2 separate regions of the Homo sapiens genome follow, and region 1 is linked to region 2. Evidence: promoter capture Hi-C in human tissues and cell types (Jung and others, 2019). All regions are on one chromosome and are shown on one strand. Each heading gives the region's core, a stretch centred on a gene start or on the middle of the fragment in contact. The rest is flanking DNA. Distances are from core to core; before and after follow the strand shown. Region 1 has its middle 86 kb from the start of ZNF718. Region 2 holds the start of ZNF141 (zinc finger protein 141).

What was found. The method cuts DNA at HindIII sites, captures the fragments that hold promoters and counts their contacts. A contact is called where the count stands out against the background at its distance.
Region 1: a contact is called between a fragment that was not itself captured here and the fragment with the promoter of ZNF141 in region 2, in 2 of the 25 tissues and cell types used here (hippocampus and mesendoderm cells).

The regions. Positions count from the first base shown.
Region 1 is chr4:207,789-212,762 of GRCh38, reverse strand. It overlaps the pseudogene ZNF876P. Among named protein-coding and RNA genes, the nearest start is that of ZNF718, 86 kb to the right of the region's middle. The HindIII fragment of the contact is 9,234 bases long and covers 1-4,974 here.
Region 2 is chr4:333,947-339,092 of GRCh38, reverse strand. ZNF141 (zinc finger protein 141) reads right to left here and starts at 1,279. Exons shown (of 4, transcript NM_003441.4): 1 at 1,107-1,279. The coding sequence starts at 1,109. RefSeq lists enhancers at 1,430-1,529, 574-1,534, 1,640-2,155 and silencers at 2,170-2,279, 2,510-2,569. The HindIII fragment of the contact is 20,671 bases long and covers 1-5,146 here.

The DNA.
Region 1 (4,974 bases), core at 1,955-4,454, 130 kb after region 2:
TGTCGTAGAGTCTTAGCTACGAATCATCCAATACCCGCAGGTCACAGAGCGACGGAGGCTGAGGCTGTGGCCGAATCACTGAGGCCTCCCTGAGGGGTGGAAGCAGGTCGGTGAGGCCCTAACCGAGCTCAGGCAGAAGCCTGACGCAAAAGCGGCGCCAGATCCCGGATGCCGCCCCCTCCTTTGCCTGATTGGGCAGTTCTCAGTCCAGCGCCCTCATTGGATACAACTACTAGCTCTACGCCCTCAAGCTTTGAGTGACAGAATTCGAGTGACAGAAATTCGACCATACACTTAATGAGGCAAGACTGACAGACTCGTGTCTCCAGGTACTTTCAGGCAGGGCTTTCTGTGCTAGGCCTGGCTCTGTTGGGGGTTCATTTTTAAACTTCTGTTGTGTGAGGTTACGTCCGTTTATAAATTGTGCACGCACGCGCACGCACACACAGACACACTTGTTCACAAACGGAAACAATATAATCACAATTATTTTAAAATTTTAGATCTCATAACCTTTCTGGCCTCTGGTCTTTTGAGTAGGACACCTGAGATTTGAAGAGAGAAGCAAGTCTCTAAAAAATAAAATGTTGGCTATTTGTGAATTTACAATTTTTCATTGGCCACATCCAAACTAATAAAAATAAACAAGTGAAATTGTTTATGATAATTGTAACCTATTGTATCCAAAATATTATTGTTTTAATACATGATCAATATATAATTAGAAATAAAGTATATTTCTGGTCTAATTCTTCTAAACTCACTGTGCATTTTTTGTTTGCAGCACATATTACTTCAAACCAGCCACATTCCAGGTACTCAGTAGCTACATATGGCAGGTGGCCACCACATTGAGTGCAGCCATGAGGGCTCTAACCTCAGGGAATTGAGGGCCTGGACACCTCTTTTCTGTTGGAAGTGAGGGAACAACCTCTCTACCAACTTTTCTTCTCAGGCTCAAGGGTGGGTGGGACAGTGCCCCTAGAGAGAGCAGAGGCTGCAAGCTGAGAGTGTCCACGTGAATATCACGGTCTCCTAGTTGCTCTTTGGTGCTGGTGTGGTGGTCTCCTCAGTTCAGCCAGGTTCAGGCTCTCGTCCCATGACCTGGAAAAATGAGGCACATGGACACCAGAGAGTGAGAAAGCAGAGTAGGATTTATTAAGCAAAAGGAAAGCTCTCAGCAGCAAGAGGGGACCTGAAAGCAGGTTGCCAGAAATGGGGCTGAGTTCTGGGTCTTTTATGTGGCAAGAACGAGGAAGTCTTCTGTGGGTTCTACCCAAATGGGACGGGTCAAGTTCCCCACCAAGGGTGTTGCATCTGCGCATGCCTGGGGTTGACCACAGTGACTCCATTTTGGTTATTACCCATGAGTGCCTAAGGGAAACTTACAGGGGAGAAGCTAAAACCACAATGCTAATACCATGTTAATGACTTTACAATGAGCTGGGTGAAGACAAGGAAATTTAGGTTGATTTATTTTGCCTATGTCTAAGCTGGGATAGTCCCATCTGAGCAACATCCTGGCATAAGAGGAAGTTCTTAACCACATTTCTTCCCACTAGCTACAGGGGCGGGGCAGGTGCAGTCCCACAGGTGCTTTTCCTCTCCCGAGACCCTCCGTCCCTATTTTCCTAACCAGCCTCGACTGCCTTCTCTCTCGGGGGTTGAGCTGGTTAGAAATTTAGGCTGGGCTTAGCTGGGCCATTCTTCTGGGCTCAGTTTGGCTCCTTCAGGTGTGAGTGGTCAGCTGCTGGTGAATTAGGTGGCTCTGCTTCTGGGAGTGAGCTGTCTGTAAACTGGCGCACTTTGGCTTTTCTCAGCATGCTATTTTATCCTACAGAAAGCTAAAATGGGCTTGTTTTCATGGACATGGAAAAATTCTGAAAAAGATAACAGAAGCATTTAAGACCTTTTGAGCCTGGGCCCCAAACTGGCACACTGTCATATGCACAGCTTCGGCCTGTGCAAATAAGGAAGATTCAAGGTTTGGGAAACAGAATCTGTCTGTTGATGGGAACCACTATAAAAGCCATTTCCAAGAATATGAATACAATAAGAAAAATTTTTTTAATTTCTGTTTTTGCAATCAATTTTGTTTTGTCTTTTCTTGCAGGTAAGTATAAAACTCTCCCACATCTACTAAGCAGCTGGCTTGGACTCAGGATCAACGTTGTCTCTGAAGCCCATGCACCTCCATAGACCACACTACTCAGCCAGGTTTCCTGGTCCTTCAAGGGGCTAAAGAGTTACATTTCTGAAATAGAAGCAAGATTTTTTTTTGAGAATCTCATTCCATCCATCCAGTACTCTTCACCATTGGAAATAATTCACTCCAGGGAATGCTTCTGAAGTCTCTTGGAAAAACTGGAAATGATTTGAGGAAATGGCTAAGCATTGAGTGTAGGAAATTAATGCCCAACATTACATTTTAATTTCTTATCATAGGATAAATATGAAAACACCTATAATGCACTCCACATATCTGCAAACCCTTTGTGTCATTATTCTGTATTGGTAGGATACTTGTGATTTATTTTATTTTATTATTATTTTTTTTTTGAGACGGAGTCTCGCTCTTTCGCCAAGGCTGGACTGCAGTGGCGCTGTCTTGGCTCACTGCAAGCTCCGCCTCCTGGGTTCAGGCCATTCTCCTGCCTCAGCCTCCCTAGTAGCTGGGACTATAGGCACCCGCTACCACACCCGGCTAATTTTTTTTTTGTATTTTTAGTAGAGACGGGGTTTCACCGTGTTAGCCAGGATGGTCTCGACTGCCTGACCTCGTGATCCACCCGCCTCGGCCTCCCAAAGTGCTGGGATTACAGGCGTGAGCCACCGCGCCCAGCCTGTGATTTTTAATACAGACTAAATCAACTTACTGTGCCTGAAAAAACTTTTGCTCTGAAGGCAAGTGACATAGAGATAGAGCTGCTGATATTTTTCCCTGTTGCAATTTAGCCAACCAGCAGAGTATGTTTTGAAGGGCCAAGATGTTTTCTAAGACCCCCATCTAGGAGCAGCTATATGGCAAATGCCTAGAGCACACATAGAAATCACACACAACCAATGCATTCCTGACCCTGAATCAATGCTTCTCACCCTTGGGTGCACATTAGAATAAACTGCTGTGCATGTGGGTGGTGTTGTTTAATGTTCCCAAACCCAAGTTGCAAGGGAATAATTAAGCCAGAATCTCTAGAGTGAGACCCAGGCAGCAGTGTGATTTAAAGCTCTCCCGGTGATTACAATATGCAACCATACTCCAAAATGTCTGCTGTAAACCAACATCTTTCAGAGAACCAGTTGAAAATATTTCTCAAATTAATGTAAAACGTGTTTGCTGTTGAGTTGTGGCCTTTCAGTCTTACTCGTATTACCCATATTCTATCCTTTGCAAAACTGACCTCTGCTACTTGTTTTGTTCCTGATTCAAACCAGTTCCACACATACTGAGTGCACACTGTGTGCAGCCCACTGTGCTATGTGAATATTGTTGTGGAGGAAGGACTTTGCTGTAAGAAATTTACATTCCCCAAAACTAAAACCATGTTACTTACTCAATTGAAATAAAAAATGAAAGACTGAGGGGGACGCCCAAGGGTCAGGACATGAGTAAATACCTTGGAATATTAGTATCCATCTCATGATGCCTGAGTGTAAATGCCCCACTTTCAAACAAAACAATACCAAGCATTGCTATTATTCTGAAATATTAAGTTAGGATTAAATAATATTTAAAATTTTATTGATGTATAACACGCATACAGAAATATATGCACAATAAAATATTAATGTAATGCTCAATAAGTTGTAACAAAACTAATACATTGCATAACTATAGAATAGAACTACCCCTGTTTTTGCCCACAAACCACTTCCTTTTTTCCTCCTCCCCAAACCTAATCATGATCTTAAGAGCTAATGCTATAGTTTTTCTTTTTATACAAGTGTTTTATTAGAGAATATTTTAACTTATACACAATAACCAAAATAGTATAATATGGGGGAAAAAAAGAGAGATCAGACTGTTACTGTGTCTATGTAGAAAGAAGTAGACATAAGAGACTCCATTTTGTTCTGTACTAAGAAAAATTCTTCTGCCTTGAGATGCTGTTAATCTGTAACCCTACCCCCAACCCTGTGCTTGCAGAAACATGTGCTGTGTCAACTCAAGGTTTAATGGATTGAGGGCTACGCAGGATGTGCTTTGTTAAACAAATGCTTGAAGGCAGCATGCTTGTTTAAAGTCATCACCACTCCCTAATCTCAAGTACCCAGGGACACAAAACACTGTGGAAGGCTGCAGGGACCTCTGCCTAGGAAAGCTAGGTATCGTCCAAGGTTTCTCCCCATGTGATAGCCTGAGATATGGCCTCATGGGAAGGGAAAGACCTGACCATCCACCAGCCCAACACCCATAAAGGGTCTGTGCTGAGGAGGATTAGTAAAAGAGGAAGGCCTCTTTGCAGTTGAGATAAGAAGAAGGCATCTATCTCCTGCTTGTCCCTGGGCAATGGAATGTTTCAGTGTAAAACCCAATTGTATATTCCATATACTGAGATAGGAGAAAACCGCCTTAGGGCTGGAGGTGAGACATGCTGGTGGCAATACTGCTCTTTAATGCACAGAGATGTTTACGTATGTGCACATCAAAGCACAGCACCTTTTTCTTAACCTTGTTTATGATACAGAGACATTTGTTCACATGTTTTCCTGCTGACCCTCTCCCAACTATTACCCTATTGTCCTGCCACATCCCCCTCCAAGATGGTAGAGATAATGATCAATAAATACTGAGGGAACTCAGAGACTTGTGCTGGCCTTGGTCCTCCGTATGCTGAGTGCCAGTCCCCTGAGCCCACTTTTCTTTCTCTATACTTTGTCTCTGTGTCTCTTTCTTTTCTCAGTCTCTCATCCCACCTGACCAGAAACACCCACAGGTGTGGAGGGGCAGGCCACCCCTTCAGTATAAGATGA
Region 2 (5,146 bases), core at 30-2,529:
AATGGGCGGGCTCAGGAGTGGGTTAGCATTGGGTGGGGGCTGGCAGCAGGGTGCAGGGAAGGGATGTTTCTCAGAACTCCTTTCCTCCAAGTTCTCAGCGCCCTCTCTCCCCGGGAGGAGACCTGGAGGAACAGAACAGTGCGCAGCAGGACAGTGCATGTGCAGAACCCGGCTGGTCTCCCGCGGACACCTGCGACTCCCTCCAGCCCAGGCTCAGCCATGTCTTTCTTCTGACAGGAAACGTGAGGAGTTTGCTCAACACCAGTCAATGCTCCGACCCCAACGGGCTGTCCAACAACTCACTAACGACACCACCCGGAGTCAGCACAGACCCCACAAGCTCAGCGCTCTTCCCGCAGCTGCCCCCCTGCAGACGCCAGTCCCTGCCTCTGGACACCCGTCTTCATTTCTGAACACCTGTCTACAAACCAGGGGCCCACACCCTCCTCAAGTTCAATAATATGACAGAACTACTCACAGAACTCAGCGAAGCGCTGTGCGCGCCCACACTAGCGTATTCTAAAAGATGCCACTCAGGAACAGCCACGCGGAGGAGGCGCACAGGGCAAGGAGACTGGTGGGCAAGTTGGAGCGGGCGGGTGATTTGCTTCGCTTCCTCACACACCTCACAAAAGCTTTTCCTTCAAGACCCGCTGGCAGCCCCCAAACCACGAGCCACGGCCGGCGCTGTCCCATTAATGAGTCCCCATTTGCTCACATGAACTCTGTTTTGATGGGGCCTCGATCTCATTCCGAACAGGGTAAAGCAGGGACGGGATCCCCAGACCACAGCTTCTCCCACAGCTCCTCCCACGCCGGCATCGCGCACGCCGCGCGGGCGGCTTCCAGATAAGCTACTCCTCACCCCACAGCCTGGGGAAGGTGCGGGGCTGCGGGCGCAGAGCTGCACAAGGAGGGCTGCAGGCTGGGCCAGAGCCGCTGTGCGGGGACCGACAGGAGCCCAGGTCCCTCACCGGAGGGTACTGAGGCCCCAGGGCTGAGCGGCGGCAGCGGGGACTCCGTTCGCAGACTCGGTCCCGCCGCCATTTCCCGCCAGCTCCGATGAGACCTCCTCAGCCTTGGGACGCCCTGCCCCGCACACTCACCATTTCCCCACTTCTGAAGTATTCGGGAGTCTTAGCTACCAATCATCCAATACCCGCAGGTCACAGAGCGACGGAGGCTGAGCTGTGGCCGAATCACCAAGGCCTCCCACAACTGAGAACGCAGAGAGATGAAGCCCCTAACCCGCGGTCTGGTAGTAGCCAGACGCAAAGACCCGCGCCACATCCCGGAAGCCACCGCCTCCTCTCTGGCTGCGTGCCTGATTGGGCAGTTTTCACTCCAGTGCGCTGATTGGATACGGCTCCAATCTCCCCGCCATCAGACCTTGAGTGACAGAAGTTGCAACCACATACTCCACGGAATGTGGCGAGAGTGACAGCCGGGGGGCCTCCAGGCAGTTTCAGGCGGGGCTTTCTCTTCGTGCTTGGCCTGGCACAGCCCAGGGGTCATTTTTTAACCTTGTGATGTGTAAGGTGACGTCCATTTAGAAATTATACACGCACGCACACACACAGACATATACGCGCGCGCGCACACACAGACGCGCGCACGTACGCAGTCTCACATAAACATACAAAAGTCACAGACACACACACACACACACGCACGCACCCACGCACGCACAGCCCATCCTTCCTCCAAGGCTCGCGAATCATCTCTCCACAAATCCTGCCTTCGGGGCCGCAGCCTGCAGGCCGACCTCAGTCCGTCCTCACAGAGCCTAGTTGGGTGCACAGCTCTCCCTGACGCGCGAGGAGCAGGTTCACGGGAGTCGGTCGCGCATCCCCAGCGCCCTGCGGGCCTCGCACCGGCTGTGGCGGTGACCCCGGTGAGGAGGGCTTTGGTGCGGGTCACCGTTGCTGAGGACACCCTCCTCCCCCGGAAGCGCGGTCCTGGGGGTCTGGGGGGCGGGTCCCTGACCGCTGTAAACAATAGGTCGGTGGTGTCCACGCAGCAGGCAGCAAATTCTCAGGAAGTGAGCGTCCCGTCTTTGGCTTCACCTTCGTGTCTGTAGAATGGGGGTGAGGGGACTCAGGACTCGGAGCGCTGTCGGGCGGGGCGAGGTGGGCTGAGAGTGTGTCTCCCTCCCCAAGCTCACCCGGAGCTGTGCGGGGCGGGACCGCCCCAGGACCCTCGGTTCCCAGGAGCTCCTGGGGGCCCCGCCGCCCCCACCCCAGGCCGCGCTGCGCAGCCCCAGTCCCCGCCGGCCCCACCGCGCGGTCGCTTTGAGGTCGGCCGGGGTCTGCCCGGCGATGGCGACGCTGCAGCCGCTGGAGCCGGGGCCACCGGGGATCTCGGCGGGACCTGGCGGCAGCGAGGACGCGGACCCTGGAGAGATGGGAGGGGCGCGCCCCGAGCCCGAGCCCCACCCGGACCCGGCTGCCGTCGGCCTAGCCAGGGCCGGGGCGGACACCGTCGAGGACGAAGCCGGGCCCGCGCCCCTGGGCGACCCGTTGAGCCGCGGAGCCCCGCGGGGTGGAGCCGGGCCAGGCCCATCCGCTCCGGGCGCGGGCAGCTGGCGTCGCGGGTGGGTCAGAACCCAGGACACGCCCAGGAGTCCGACCTCATGGCGCTGCAGGGCCTGGGGAGTGGGGGCTGGGGACAGCGCCAGGGCCAACCCGACGCCAGCACCCCCGGCAGACCCCAGGAGCCGCCTGTGAAGAGACTGGATAGGTGCATTAAGCGATCAGAAAAGTCACTGGCTGGCCCTGTTGATGAGCAGAACGCTTTCAGAGAAGTGTATGCTCACGCAGTGCTTGGACAGCATTCGCGTAGTTTGACACTTGTCTGCTTGGGCGGATAGATGCTCACACACATAAGTTTGTTTTGTAGTTATGCAGGATTGCACTGTGGCTAAGTACACAGACTCTGGGTGCACATCCCAGCTGCTCTGCTATTTCCAGCTGTGTGACCATGGGGAAGTTACTTGCCTGTGCTCAGTGTCCTCTGTAAAGTGAAGATAGCAGTACCTGCCTCATGGAGTCCCTTAAGTGAGTTAATAGTGTAACATGTTATGGCGTCATGCACACAGTCACCATCGGTAAATATAGTCTATTATGCCTGAACCCCAGAGGAGCACATGTCCTTGAAAAGTCTAAAATTCAGGACTCTAAAATCCAGACTGTGAGACCCTGGAATCCTCCAGCAGCATTCTAACGTCTCTTGGCAATTGTATGCTGCTTCCCAGGGCTGGAAGGTGTATTTGTATTAATACAGTGAAATAATACGGCCACTTGACCACCTAGTTCATCCCTATAGTAGGCAAATAAGGTGATGTCAAATCCTTGGCTGGGGCCCAGTCCTGGTAATCTTCCCTTCTCTCTTTCCTGCATACTCTCTCATTCAGATTCATACATGCCCTGCAGGACTGCTTAGCCTGCAGAGAAGGCAGGATGGTGAGGAGAGAAGGTGAGTGGGTGGGTGGGTGCAATTGTTCACTGAAGTGTGCTGCCTCTTGCCATCTGAACTTGTGGGCCCAGGCACTGGGTCTGGACCTGAGGGGGTCTTGTTCTCCCTTTAACTTTAAGCCTCAATTGGCAGCAATCGCAGAGCTTCGTCCCTCCCTGTGAGCCTGTCTGGGTGTTTATGCTGGATGACATGCACCCCCTCTGCCAGGAGTGCATAGTCTATGGCCTGGCCAGGCAGCCATTGCAGATGAGAAGAGTTTCAACGTCGACTTTATTGTGCTGCTGGGTTTTTTCTGCTGGCTCTTAGCACGTTTCTCATGAGCCATGATTAGCCTCAGGTCTATGGCACCTTCCGCAGCTATGTCATGGTGACTGGGGACATCATCTGAAGCATGTGCCACTGCTACCCCAAGGCAGGTGTTGGTGAGGCTGTGTGGGGATAGGAGGGTTGGAGACCATGTCTCTATCTCATGCATCAACTCTTCATCCTTCAATCATCTCCTCATTCTTATTTTGACTCTGTGTTTACTTCTTTCTGCCCTCCTGAGCATTCATCCATCTATGCATCATTTCATCCACCCTTTCAACCACCCATCCATTCATCTATTCGTCCATCACTTAGCAGAAGGATTGATCAGAAGCCCCCAGGATCTGGAGCCATGAAACAGACACCATGGAGGAGACACAGTGAAACACAACATATTACTTATGTGCTTAAACTAAAAGTCAGTGAGTGGTTTCCACCTGCCAGGCACTCCTGCATTTAGAGTGCAGTTCTGCCCTTATCCTGATCTTTTTGGAGCCTTCTGTAGTTCCATTTTATATCAGAAAAAGCTGAGGCTCAGCAAATGAGGTTCTATAACTGACTGGCCGAGTTTGGATTGGAGCTCAGATGTGTGAATGTAGGCATCATTCTTTTTCTTGAGTTTTCCACCCCAGGGCCCCAGAGCGGCTTAGCTTTCTGGGGTGGGTCAGGTCTAATCTTGGTGGAATGCATTGAGCAATTCTCTATCTTTTGGAGTCTTAATGTATTCTTAGCCCTAGGAGTGGTTTAGTGATGGGAAAGCACTGGTTTGAGAGTCCTGTGTTCTAATGCCAGTTGTGACCCAAACTTTGTGTGTGATGTTTGTCTTTCCGAGCCTCAGCTTTTTCATCTGCAAAATGGGACTTTAGCCTCTATTTTGCACAGCCAAACAGCATATAAAGATCAGAGAAGAGATGGGATATACAAATATTTTGTCAACTCTAGAATGTTGTTTGTAGTTGAAAGGCTGCCGGGTACTGATAACCTTGAGAAAAGAACATGTCAGCTCCCAAGTCAAGTCTCTTACTCTTTCATTTTTATTTTTAACTTTAGACACAAAAATGTTTCTTTTTTCTTGAACTACACACTTAAGAAGCTCCTATTGATAACCAAATTAATGTTTTTCTTTTGAAAATAATTTACCCTTTTTTGTTGAAGGTATTGTAAGAATCCATTTCCAGCTTTAAGGACAATTTCTCTCAGTTCCATTTATATTTATTTCTCTGGTTTTAGCTCTATACATTTGTGGAAATTTTACTTCCATTTTTGTGAATAATCTTTTGTTTGTTTGTTTGTTTGTTTGAGAGGGAGTCTTGCTCTGTTGCCCAGACTGGAGTGCAATGGTGTGATCTTGGCTCACTGCAGCTTC